Linked DNA regions of Homo sapiens: region 2 is linked to region 1. Evidence: promoter capture Hi-C in 16 types of primary human blood cells and fetal thymus (Javierre and others, 2016). All regions are on one chromosome and are shown on one strand. The core of a region is centred on a gene start or on the middle of the fragment in contact, and the rest is flanking DNA. Distances in the headings are between cores, read along the strand shown. Region 1 holds the start of SMAD9 (SMAD family member 9). Region 2 has its middle 23 kb from the start of CCNA1.

Region 1 (6,789 bases), core at 1,746-4,245:
GGATCAATGTACCAGTTTGATTCTGATCCACGGAATAGAATCTCATCCATATTTGGTGGCTGGACTAACTCCATGGGTGCTGTGACAGACTGAACTATTTTTGTGGTATCCCCAGATCTCACTAAATAAGAAAAGACCCTACACCAGAAAATATAACAATCAATCCGTCCATAAATTTTATCTATATGCTTGCTCTTCAGTATAAGTTGGAAAAAGAGGCCCTTTCTTGAGGACATGGATAAAAGTATTATGGTCTAAAGATTGCTGGATCGATATTGTGTTGTTATAATAAAGATAAGGTACACATTGAAACCACTGTCTGATTAAGAAACTTCCACAACTTGTCTCAATTCTTCAAATAATGGAGTAAGTTTCTTTTCTAGGCTGACAATTAGTTCTGTATTGGCATTGCTGCTGGCTATGAAACTCACCACCAAAGGTAAATGATTTAACTGAATCACCAGGTAGGTGTAACAGTAACAGATGATACTTTTATTTTTTGAAAGTCCAAGTTTGCTCCCGTGGTCTGTTGCAAGGGCAAAAGTAGGTAAGAAACCAGGTCTCAAAGCATGCTCTGGAGCATTATCAATGGCCACTTTAATAACAGGTACTCCAACTCTGACACAACAATAGCATGGAGCCCTTCAACACTTTGTAACATTTGATACATGAATCGCTTTAGGTCATCCGCCATGATGAACCCCCTTCTCTTGCAGGATCAATCTCCTTGCCTGGGGTTTCTGGGCTGCCCGGTTCTCTCCACTGTCACTTCAGGAACAGCTTCAAAGACCACAGTCTGGTTTTATGCTGGGTATATGGCAAATGCAAAGAATTGGCTCTCTCTTGGGGTAAGGAAGCTGCCCTTCCTACCACTGTTTTATAGCCTGAGGGAGTTCGTGTTAGGCCAAGACCTTATCATCTTTCAGAAAACAGATTTCAGTTTTGCCGTGGTTTTGAGGTCCTGAACCAAAATTTCACTGGCGGTTCTACCAAATCACAACCTCTGAGTCTCTCCTTTCATATGATTCCCATAACAGAATGTTTTGGTGGAAGTTCTATTAAGCAGTAAAACCACAGCCAATCAAGAAATCACTGGGAAAGATAAAGCGAAGTCTAGCTTTCCATTAACCAGGACAGTCAGCTTCTGTAAAATGGAGTGTCAACACTGCGCCTTCTGTCTTAGGCCAAGCATTTTCTCCTTCTTGGAACTCACCAGATCTTATTGTTCTTGAGCGTAATGGATTAACTTTCTATACTAGCCTTGAGGAATACATGATAGGAATTATATCAGTGACAGACTAATGTTTAGGCAGGAAAAAGTCATCATCGTGCAGAAATATCCTGGTATGTAAATGAGAACGTACAGAAAAGAGCAGACTAGACATACTCTAAATCAAAGGCCTGCCAAGAGTCAAGAGAATTCTGCGAACTGAGAAAGACTCCATGCCAGAAGCATGAGCCAGCGCTGCAGAGGTTATAATTTCTTTCTCTGCATCTTGTCCTCTGCATTATGCTCATATACGAGAAGGAAACTGAGATAGTGATTGGGCCATTTCTTTTCTTAATTTAATTTTTAAAAACTTGAGCCACAAGGTATCAATTCTGAGGACCTAATTAGTTTACTGGCAATAAAGTCCACATCCAGCCTAATCCTTAATATATAATCTGTAGCCCTTACCGGTCCCGCTGTTTCCTGGTGTTTCTCACCCAGGACAATCTCAAACCCAACACATAGCCGGGTGCAGAGGTATCTGGGCCAGTGTAGAAAGAAGACTTTGAGGTTAAGGCATGGTATTTAAGGTTCTGCTGCAAATGTTGTTTTAAACAAATCACCGTTCAACTACAACGGTATAATAATGCAAAAATAGCATCTGCCATGAAGAAAGTGCAGTGCTTTGAGAACTAGAAAAAGCAGTTAAATTTAAGGCCTTGCTTTACATTTCGGAGCCGCCATCGGGGCCAACTGGAGGTATGACTTTCCTGCACACAGGAGCAAGCTGAAAACTGCCCTGTGGCTTTATTCCACGTTCACCCCTGCAGCAAATGCCTTTTCTGTGAGGAACTACGGGCTGATGGGGAATCAGAGGTGGTTCTTCCTAAGTGGCGTTTCTGAGTGGGTTCCAGGAGTCCACAGTGACTTTAAGAGGCAGGCTACCTGGGGGACAGCCAGGCCGTGAGACGAGAAAGTTGTACAGTAACATTGCTGTGTGCCCATAAGTTTGTATCTTTTATTAGATTAGATAATATATCTCACATGCTGGGTTGTTAAGCAAATAAATATGTGTAAGGAAATTACAATCCACATAATTACATGAGTCGTTTTAACCACCACTCACCCCCAGAGTGATTAGATTTTCTTCTGCCTATGCCATTGCGGCCCAGTTGCTCTGTCACTGTCCATGGGGACAGGATCCCCTTACTCCGAAAAGCAAATCAGGAACAAACAGGGCAAGTGAGAGTCACTATCAGGGCCCAGAAACATGTGAGGAACAGCAGCTCAGAAGGGTCTCCAGACTGATGGGCCGGTGATCCTATATTCTTGTTGGGCTGACAACTCTTCTGGTTTCGGGCTCCAGGTGCTGGCAAGAAATCTCAGAGGTGGGGTGGGAGAGAGAGACGCGAGGCGACCCACGCAGACAAAGGGCTCCCACCCCACCCCCGGGCCACCCCGGCAGGCCGGGCAGGGGCCGAGCCTGGGGTCGCGCAGGGGGACCGAGAGGGCAGCGCGGGGCTGGGGGTGGGGAAGAGGCGGGAACCGAGCCGCAGGCCGCTGCGAGGAGTACTACCCCGCCACCCCCGCGCCGCGAGTTTCCGCGCACGTGGCCGTGGGGCCGGTCTCGCTCCCGCCCCCCGCCGGGCCCGCGCAGCCCCCTCCTCTGCGGCTCCCGGAGCGGCCAGAGCGCGCGGCGGCGGGCGGGGGCGGGCCGCAAGCAGGGCTCCCTGGCCGCTTTCCAGGTCGGCGCACTAATACGGGCGATGAGGCTTCGCGGCTCCAGTCTGACTGACGCCGGCTGGGGCCGCCGCCGCCGCCGCCGCCGCCGCCGCTGCTGCAGCCGCTGTCTCGGTCCCCGCCGCCGCCGCCGGGCCCTGCAGGCGCTGGGCGCGCGCAGCCAGGCAGTGAGTGCGCGGCGCTCGGAGCGGGCGGCCGGGGGACCACGGCGGGGGCGGGGTTGGGGGCGCCGGACCTGGGTGGGGGAGGGATGAGTGGCACGGCGGGGACAGGTAAGACGTGCCCTCCTCGGCCGCGCGCTGCTTGTGTGCGTGCGTGTGAGCGCATTGAGTGGAGGGCGAAGTTGTTCGTCCTCGGGGCAGCCTGGGAGGCTCCTCGGCGTGAGGCTTGGCTTTTGGCGGTCGTTGTTCCCGGGTTTTTTGGTGGAGCCTGTCTGGGGTGGAGTGGGGTGGGGTGGGGTGGGCGCGGGGCCGGAGGGGACTGCTCTGGGGAGTTGGCCGCGGCGCAGCTCGCCTTCCTCGCGCCTGCATCCGCCCGCGCCGCGGGCCCCGGGACCTGTCAGGGGATGTTCGACCCGCGGCGGGGGCGGCGGTCGGGTCGGGGCTGGGGCCCGGGGCGTGGGCAGGGACCAGGATAGGCGCCTGAGGGGTCGCTTGCTGTAGCTGGAGATAGGGGACAGCGGACAGAGGGGGCGGCGGGGGTCGTCATTGTGACTCTTTGGGGGCCACTTTTAAACTCGCCAGCGCCGAATTGGCCTCACTTGCCTTCTGTTTCGTAGGCTTTTTGCTTTGTTTACCTTTGAGGCATGCGAACTGAGAAAAAAAGTTAGGAATGTTGTTGAAGTGTCTCCGGGCTCGCGCTTGGACTGTGTCGGAGCCGGGGTGTTTGTCTTTTCCTTGGCCCGCCCCTCGGTGCCAGCTCTCCGCAGAGGGGAGGGGGCGAGGTGGGAAGCAGATACAGGAGACTGCCTGACGCCAGCTTTGTGATCGGAAGGAGGAGCGCTGGGAGAACATTTTTATGGATGGCTAATCGCTGACAAGTTTTCCCGTTACTATTCCTTCCTCCTCCTGCCCTTGACCGTGGACATTTGAAGTGATAGTTTGGAAATACTACGTTGACTTATTTCTGGGCTGGAGTGGGTACTCCTGAGAACTAACCTACAAAGGATACAAATCGAGTTTGGAGATAAAATTGTATGTAAATTCTTTACCCAGTAGTTTACAGTGAGAAACACACCCACAGGGCACTGTGGAGTGCTTTGGATGGATCCAGTTTACTAGTACCATTTCGGTGGCTTGCCAGATTTCTCGGATGATCTTTTGGAAATGTAGGTTAGCAAGAAGCATGGAGGCTGACCGTTAAGTCGTGAGGCATTTAATAATGCTGCCTCCTAAGCAGTAACTGAGCGGAACGTTTGTGGCACCCGTCTGGGAAAGTGAAATGTGACTACTACAAGCATGTCTCCTGCCTTAGCATTCCTCCAAGTGTGAGGGAATGCCTTTGGATGTTTACATTTTAAAAATAGTGATCTATATTTAAGAAGGCATTTAAAATAAAAGCCAAAGACATTCTCAACTCCAAATAGACAAAGATTCAATATAAGAGTTTCCCTGTGCTTGTAGGAAAGCATCAGCACAATTTTAGACTGCTTTTAGGTTTGTGGTTATCCAAGAAGGAGGCTTCAGATAAGAAAAGGATGTGACGCTTTATAAATAAGGAGCATTTTAAATACAAGATGACAGCAATTTCAAGTACTGTATCCGAAAAACAACTTTTAGTGGTAATAGTCACCTTCAGTGATGGCAAGACAGCTGTCTGCCAGACAGCCTTCGGCCTCTTAATGTATTCTGACACAACCAACTCCCATTTTTATGCTTGACTGGTTATCTTTGTCAGAGCTGTTTTATGCTTGAGCTCTCTGGTTTCAAACTATGCTTAAGAGAATGCCAACATACTCTTGATCTGAACAAACTCATGTTTATCAGTGCAGTGTTTACTAAAAATCAAAGACGTAAACAAATTTTGGGTTAAACCTCTAAGTACTTTAGAATTGCCACATCATTGTCATCAGTCTTTCAAAGTCAACATGAACTATTTGGCTTTTCTCCTTTAAAAAATTTTTTTAACTTATATATTCCTAGTTAGTAAGTAATCAGAAAATATTCACAGATGTCAACTCTTGCATCTGTGATTGCCCAAGACATGGATGAGAAAGAAGAGTTTTGTTTTGTTTTTTAAATGAAACATTACTAAAGATATCCATAAGTAATAAACAAGTGGTACACTATCTTTACTAATCATGTGGTCAGTTGGAGGGAAAAAAGTCTGTCCAGAAATTGTTTCATAAAGATGAAAATATTCAATGTCAATATGAAAATACTCAATATGTTTTCCAAATAGTTTAATTCTGATTAATGAGAGTGCACTATGCATTGCCAAACTGGAGGGATGGTGTTTCGTAAGTGAGCACCGTAGGATTAAGGTAACTACTTTATATCTGACATTCCCTCTGTAATAAATAGGACAGCAGTTTCATCATGTTCTGCTTTAATATGTGGGAAATAATCCTTATCCACAGGATGTACTCTGATTTTAGGGAAGGTAAAGGTTATGACAAATATGTGGTTTTTCTGATTTGCCAGACATACTATGCTAAATTTTAAAGCTTTAACGAAGCTTAGTGCAGACTTTCTGTATATTGTTTTGGACACTTAGAGAGGAGTTAAAGAAACGGGAAACTGTCCAGAATGAAACAGTAAATATAGCAGTACGTTGAAACCATGAATCTTCTCAAATAGTTGTAATTCTAGGCTGTTGGATTTATATTTCCTTGGTTACTGTTGCTAGTGGGTTGAAAAGTTATTCTAAAGCAAAAAAAAAAAATGCAAACAGTAAATGCATAAGTACTTAACAATACTGTGAGCATTTTCACAATGTTTCATGTTATCCTGGTGAATGTCCATGTCCTAAGTAAGGACATTAAAAAAATAAACAATTATCCCTTGGTAATAAACTAACCTTTTAAAATAAATATTCCGGTAAATTTTGTCTCTTAAGAAACTTGTGTCAACTAAAGTTGTTAGGATTTCAAGATATCTGTTAGCATTAGGAGTCATTATACCCATGAAAACTGGATGTTCTTCTTGCTTGGTGGTCTTCATCCTGACACTTCCTACCCCAAAACCATGACGGACACCTCGGCCGCACTTGCCTGACTTGTATTCTGCTCTCCTTTGGTGTCGGCTTCCTTTTGTGTTAGGCTGACCCAAGACCACTTTTCCAGGCTTATCTTCCCGGTCTTTCCCTATTTTATGCTGCAGTTAAAATAGCAAATGCTAGTTTCCATGCATACCCTGGCTTTCCTCTCCTGTGCACCTTTACCCCACGCTGAGGCCTTCCCAGCTTCCCCACCTCCCACAGGATCCTCAAATATGACTTCTTCATCTTGTATGCCCTGTTCAGGCGCTGCCTTCACGGGACTTTCTGTGATGACCCTGGTCCCAGGTATGTCCTCCTTCGAGCTCCTGTGGCTCTTCGCCTTTTCAACTCTTACCTGTTTTGTATTAAGTTACTCATAGACTAATTTATTTCTTCCCCTCAGACCATCCTTACAAGATCCAGGAAGGAAGGGACTGTTTCATCTACCTTTTTTATTCTCTGAATGCTGACCACAGTGCCCTTTATAGTACTCTATCAATAAATAACAAATACATGACACATTTTTTCACTGAACCCATGGTCCCTCCTGAAATAAAGTCTGTAAAAGCATTTCACCCATAGGATAAAGTCCATCTTTCAAGAAGCTGGTGTTGAATCTGAGCTGAGGACTAGTTCAGAGG
Region 2 (6,789 bases), core at 1,579-4,078, 510 kb after region 1:
TGGAGCCTGGGTTTCCTCAAAACATGGCACTGGTTCAGAAACAGGGATAGACAGAAACATAAAAAGATCACCAGGCAGACACTATCTTGCCTTTTCCAACCTAGCCTCAGAACTCACACAATGTCACTTTCAGAACATTTCATTTGTTAAACTTGAGTCACTTAGGTTGGCTTATATTCAAGAGAAGCGGAATTGGGTTCTATCTTTTTATAGGAGTAGTGTCAAAGAATTTGTAGGCGTGGTTAAAACCACCATGCCATGTTGATATAGTTTGGTTCTGTGTCCCCACCCAAATCTCAGCTCAAATTGTAATTCCCATAATCCCCACATGTTGAGGGAGGGTCCTGGTGGGAGATGATTGGATCATAGGGTGATTTCCCCCATGTTGTTTTCATGATAGCAAGTGAATTCTCACGAGATCTAATGGCTTTATAAATGGCAGTTTTCCCTCCTCTCCTCCTTCCTGCTGCCTTGTGAAGAAGGTGCCTGCTTTCCCTTCACCTTCTGCAACAATTCTAAATTTTCTGAGGCCTCCCCAGCCATGCAGAACTTCAAGTCAATTAAACCTCTTTCCTTTATAAATTACCCAGTCTCAGGCATTTCTTTATAGCAGTGTGTAAATGGTTAAACATGAATATGGTAAATACCTTAAAGATTTTCTGTGGCTTCAATGATTGAAAAACTTTACCCTAAAGAACAATAATACCAAAGACAAAACTACAACAAAATGTGAGTAACTGTTAAGCCAAAATATAGACCAGGTTATTTGAAGAATGTTGTTTGTTTTTGTGTTTTACCAAATTAGTCCTCAGAGAAAAAGAGTTACTTAACGCTATAGACTAAATGTTTATGTCCCCTCAAATTCATATGTCGAAATCCTAACTTCCAAGGTGATGGCATTAGGAGACTGAGTCTTTAGGAGTTGATTAGGTCATGAGGGAGGAAACCTCATGAATGGGACTAGCGTCTTCATAAAAGAGACCCCAGAGATCTCCCTCTCCCCTTCTGCTCTGTGAAGACACAATGAGAAGACTGCCACTATGAATAAGGAAGCGGGTCCTCACCAGACACTGAATCTACAGGCACCTTGATATTGGAGTTCCCAATTTCCAGAACTATGAGAAATAAATATTTGTTGTTTATAAGGTACTCACTCTATGGTATTCTGCTGTGGCAGCCCAAATGAACTAAGACACTTAATATCCAAGCCCTCTCCAAGATTCTTGTTTGATGGAAGTATTCTTCCAATTATTCTATTTTAATTACAAATTATTTAGGAAAGACAAATTAGCCTGAAAAGATGTCAATTAGAGCTATATGGGGAATCTTAAAAGGTCATCTAACTGAGCTAATAAAAAGACAAAGCCTTTTAGTACAGATTTGGTAATTATTCTTCCAGGTAGGACCTTCAAATTGTAGTGCTGGGATATGGATATAAACAAGATTACTAAGATCAGTTTTTCATAAAGCAACTCACCTTTGCTTTGTGGAGATAACAAATGTAAGTCTCATAGGACAATGAAAAACAATTGTTCTACTGTTTCACAATTGGCTACTTTGTTTTGGAATAAAACTTACAATTATAGTATCATATGCCAATCCAAAGGTATTTTATCTTAAAAGTTGTTTTATCTCAAGATACTTAAAATTGGAAAAAATTAGATGGCTCAAACAGTGGCTCTTCTGATAATGAAGACTCTTGTCTTCAAGAATTTGAAGAAAATTTGAGTAAAATTATTTCTGAAATGAGAAGAAATATTTCAAAATTGGCACATTTTTATAATATTATTTCAAATATAATTGTATAAGCAGATTCATATTAACTAGCTCAAGTAAACATTGACTATTTTGTTAACATCCATTGTGTTCATATATTCATGTTGACCAAAAAGCTTTTTGTATTTTTCCATTATGAAAACAGAGAGCCACCTCATATTTAGGGTTGCCTTTTAATCAGCATATATATTATTTTAAAAGCTTAGCTTTCAGTAATTATCCTTCAGTTCAAATCTATGAATAACATAGTCTGTGTTTTTACTAAATTGGTTTCTTTTCCCTTTGTATTATTGTGTGATAACTAATACAGTAATACAGATTTTCATGGAGCAGACGCATTATCAATGTGATTAATTTCTGAATACAAGCAACCAAACACAGTACCATATACACAAAGGCCCATTTAACAAAGATTTCACTGAAGTAATTCAGTGAGTCTTACTTAATGTGTATCACAAAGAAATGATGGGATTATTGGCAGAGAAAGCTTTCTTCTCAATCTGTGGGGTGGTGTGAGCCAGGAGAGTGCATGCTAGAAGGCCATGGTCAGAACTGCTACCTGGAAAGGTCCAGATCCGCACATGGACTTCTGTTGGAAAAGAACTACAGCTCACTCACCTGTGCAAACTCAGGTCACACCATAAGCTCTCTGTGTACATTAGCATTTTTACCCTGAATTAGATTATTATTCTTTTTATACATTTTAATTAAAATATTGTTATATCTCTATCATAATGAAACTAAGGAAAATACAGTTTCTTTTCTTTTTCAACGTAATGTTAACATTTAAAAGAAAAATTTGTATTTTGGCTCATAGGCAGTGACTATGTCTACATATTTCATTTGTCCAATTCCTTTTTTTTTTTTTTGAGATGGAGTCTCACTCTGTCACCCAGGCTGGAGTGTAGTGATATTATTTTGGCTCACTGAAACCTCCACTTTCCAGATTCAAGCAATTCTCCTGCCTCAGCCTCCCGAATAGCTGGGATTATAGGCGTGCACTACCACACCCAGCTAATTTTCTTTTTTGTATTTTTAGTAGAGACAGGGTTTCACCATGTTGGCCAGGCTGGTATCAAACTCCTGACCTCAGGTAATCCTCCTTCCTTGGTCTCCCAAAGTGCTGGGATTACAGGCATGAGCCACTGCACCCAGACAATTTGTCCAATTCTTGGTTTCTTGTTTCCCAGAACAATCATAAATGCACTATTATTCTACTTCTGACACTTTTTCCACAGTGTTCAAAGTATTAGGAATAGCAGATGGTCAACAGCTTTCTGTGGACTGACAAAAGCAATTACTTATTTCTGAAAACAAAGGGAAGTATGTTTTCTATTTTCACTAAATGTGACTGGTGACTTACTAATTAAGTTTCACTTAGAACACATTATACAATAACTTATTACTCAAAATAAGTAGACATAATTATTCCTCTTTGAAATGAAGAATTAAAAAGAAATTGAATAACTGTCCTGAATGAGGATGACTTTTTAAAAGGCCAGACTAAGATCTCTTTAGAATGGGTCTCCTTCCCCTATGAAATTAGGAACATGAAATAGTATTATTTAATTTGGGCAATTAAATAATGTTTCAGGATTAATTAGATATGAAGCTTAGTCTTCTGAGCTATCCTGATTCTTATAATATTCTACTGATACCATTTGTTGAAATATGTCACCCACTTTGACTCTCGTTGTTCTCACTGATAGATTCAGTGCTGACAGCACTATTTAATTCTGCATTATTACTCAACTGTGTCTAAGGGTTATAAGACCTTTGTGGAACTTATATATTTATCCTTCAAGCTCTGGGTAGCTGAATCTTTACCTTATGGGAACATGCACTCTTCAATAATGAAAATATTTAAATGGTGATTAAAGTTTAATAAAACTGCCAAGTCAATGAGATGAATGTCTTTAGAGATAATTTCCCGTGCCAGATTTTAGAAGTGATATAAAATTTATTTTCACATATTTATCTGCAAAGCCTTTTCAGATCCACTTACATTAAGGAGATACCATGGAAACTCCAAGAAAAATAGTTTCCAATATTTGGAGGCTTCAGGGATTTTGTTGTTATTTGCTGCTGGGGCAAAGAAAAGCATTCTGGAAAAGGTACCAAGTTACAAAAAGTAATATATTATCTAAATTTGCTTTGGAAAGAAAATAAAAAGGTTATATGGTGCTGTTTTGATTATTATTTCTCTTAATTATATGGTCTTCTGGAATTCCAAAGCCAGATTATAAACAGAAAGGGTAGCTGATAAAACACATGTATTTGGGATAAACCACTGCTCAAAAATAAAGCTGATAGTATCTCTCTCACTTCTGTTTTTAACAATGATTAGATTAATGTGCTTGTTATTGAATTTAACAAAAAACATCATGGTTACCTACTAAATATTCAGAATAAGGGATACAAGATGGCTAAGATAGTCTGCCTCTGGCAATAGAGCATTCACGTTTTGGTTTTTGTTTTGTTTTTAAACTCTCCCGAAACCAAACACTTAGACACCAGATAAATTTCACAAAAGTCATTTTAAGCCTGTAGCAGGGATCATACAAGGGTAAGAGAATACCTAGTGATGTTACATGAAGACGGGATTAAAGAGCTAGTCTAGCTCTGAAGCCTCCACTGACCTCAAGGTATTTGATCAGCAAAAGCTAGAGCTTTGTTTCTTTAATTCTTCTTCTTCTTCTTCCTCTTCTTCTTCTTCTTCTTCTTCTTCTTCTTCTTCTTCTTCTTCTTCTTCTTCTTCTTCCTCTCCTTCTCCTTCTCCTTCTTCTTCTTCTACCTCTTCTTCCTCTTCTTTCTTCTTCTTCTCCTCCTCCTTCTTATTCCTCTTCTTCTTCTTCCTCTTCTTTTTCTTCCTCTTCTTCTTCTTCCTCTTCTTCTTCCCCTTCCCCTCCTTCTCCTTCTCCTCCTTCTTCTTCTTCTGAACTGATTTATCACTAAGCACCCTGAAAGTCAACATTTGTTTCACTTTTCATGTTTATAGACAAGGAGAGCTTTTCTCCCTGATATTAGGATCCCCCCCCACTCCCCCAGGGGTTCTACATACTCTCAAGTGCAGAAGCTGGCTCATGGGACTCTGCCCATAGCTTCCCTCTGGACCCATAAGGATGAGTTAGTGGTTCCCCAAAATAAGTCTAAACAAGATATTCCTGGGAGATTTTTTTGGGTACATCTACTGCTAGACTCTGTCATGGAAACGGATGGAGAACTTCTAGAGAGAGCTATAAATATTTAACAAAATATTTACATAGAAAGTAGCCAGTTTTCTTCTACTTAATAGCGATCTTCAAAAATAAGTGCTGCCATCTAAAAAGTGACATACCATTCACCAAACTACTGAAAAGAACTGAATTTGTATGAAAAATTACAAATTAAGGTATGAGATGTGGGTTGTGCTAAATGGCTTTTAAGGGATAATCATCTCTTTTAGTCTAATTCTTTTTCAAGGAAGATATGTGTTGGCCAAACATGGCTTAAACTAACAGTTCTGCTGTGGACTAATTTCATTGTGTTAATAGATGTTCATACTCATGCATCAGAGCCAAATTCCTTTAACAATACACAAGAAGATAAATTTTTTAGGGTGCTAACCCTTTAAGCAATGTTATTTATTAGTAAGGATAAAACCGTATGATTTTTCTTATGGCTATCATATCCATATTATCCTAAAATACACCTCTTCCCAATTACTTTTATCACACATGAAATTGTTTTTATTTTTGTTCTTTACCCGAAAGTGCTAAGAAAATACAACCTGACTTCATGTGGTTTTAAAATCACAACTCCTGATTTATTTGTATATTTAATAGAAAATTGTCCAGGAGTTATTCCACTGTCAAAGACTTTAGTTCCTTTTAGTGATATGGCACGCACTGAAAAACTATTCCTACACAAAAACACCTCAAATACAGTAAAAAGAGCCTTGGATTTTAATGACTGTTCTGGAGCAAAAAGGAAAGACCTTTGGCCTGAACAAAGCTGAGTTAGATTCCAGGCCCCAAAACACATTAGTACACTCGAAGGACTATACTCTTTTGCTCTGGGTAGAAAAGAAAAATAAAAACTGAAAACTCTCACCTGAGAATCTTTATTTATTTATTTATTTATTTAGAGACAGAGTCTTACTCTGTTGCCCAGGCTGGAGTGCAGTGGTACAATCTCTGCTCACTGCAACCTCCACCTCTGGGGTTCAAGCAATTCTCCTGCCTCAGCCCCCTGAGTAGCTGGGATTACAGGCATGTGCCACCGCGCCTGGCTAATTTTTGTATTTTTAGTAGAGACAAGGTTTCTCCATGTTGGCCAGGCTGGTCTCAAACTCCTGACCTCAGGTGATCCACCCGCCTTGGCCTCCCAAAGTGCTGGGATTACAGGCGTGAGCCACGGCGCCCGACCAGGATCTTTAATAATAACCCCCTATCACTTGGATTTATGGTTCAAATTACTCTACCTGCAGCATCCAGGAAACCCTAAACATTTAAAAGTGTACCTGATTGGTAGTATCTTGGAGTACCTGGTTAAGACACCAAAAGATTTCGGATTTGAAATTTTCAAATAAATAGAAAATAAATGTTAAAGAAGCCAGGTGTCCATTTCAACATGGTTCCTCCAAAGGTATCAAAAATATGAAGAAAGCATAGGCAATGACCAGAAGGTTTCAGAAAAGAATCAAATGTGTAACTTCTAAAAATTAAAATATTATCACTGAAAGCAATTCAATAGATTGGCTAAACAACAGAATAGACACAGTTGAAGTGCAATTTATTGAACTTAAAGACAGAACTGAAGAAATTATACATATTATAGCACAAACAGGCAAAAAGACAGAAACCATGAAAGAGAGATTAAGAATCACTGAGGATCGAATAAGAAAATCTAATATAACTTGGAGTTCCTGAAAGAGAGCATGAATAGAATAGGGAAGAGATAATATTTCAAAATATAAGAGTTAAGCCACTGAATTAATTTACAATAGGGAATTTTATGTTATGTGAATTTCCA

Evidence for each region. The method cuts DNA at HindIII sites, captures the fragments that hold promoters and counts their contacts. A CHiCAGO score of 5 or more calls a contact.
Region 2: a fragment that was not itself captured here is called in contact with the fragment with the promoter of SMAD9 in region 1 in 1 of 17 cell types (total B cells); the score reaches 5.1 in total B cells.

Annotation. Positions count from the first base shown.
Region 1 is chr13:36,916,444-36,923,232 of GRCh38, reverse strand. It overlaps SMAD9 (SMAD family member 9), which reads left to right and starts at 2,995. Exons shown (of 7, transcript NM_001127217.3): 1 at 2,995-3,117. It also overlaps the pseudogene LAMTOR3P1. RefSeq lists silencers at 2,855-2,904, 3,015-3,084. The HindIII fragment of the contact is 8,984 bases long and covers 1-5,617 here.
Region 2 is chr13:36,406,100-36,412,888 of GRCh38, reverse strand. No RefSeq gene overlaps it. Among named protein-coding and RNA genes, the nearest start is that of CCNA1, 23 kb to the left of the region's middle. The HindIII fragment of the contact is 1,125 bases long and covers 2,266-3,390 here.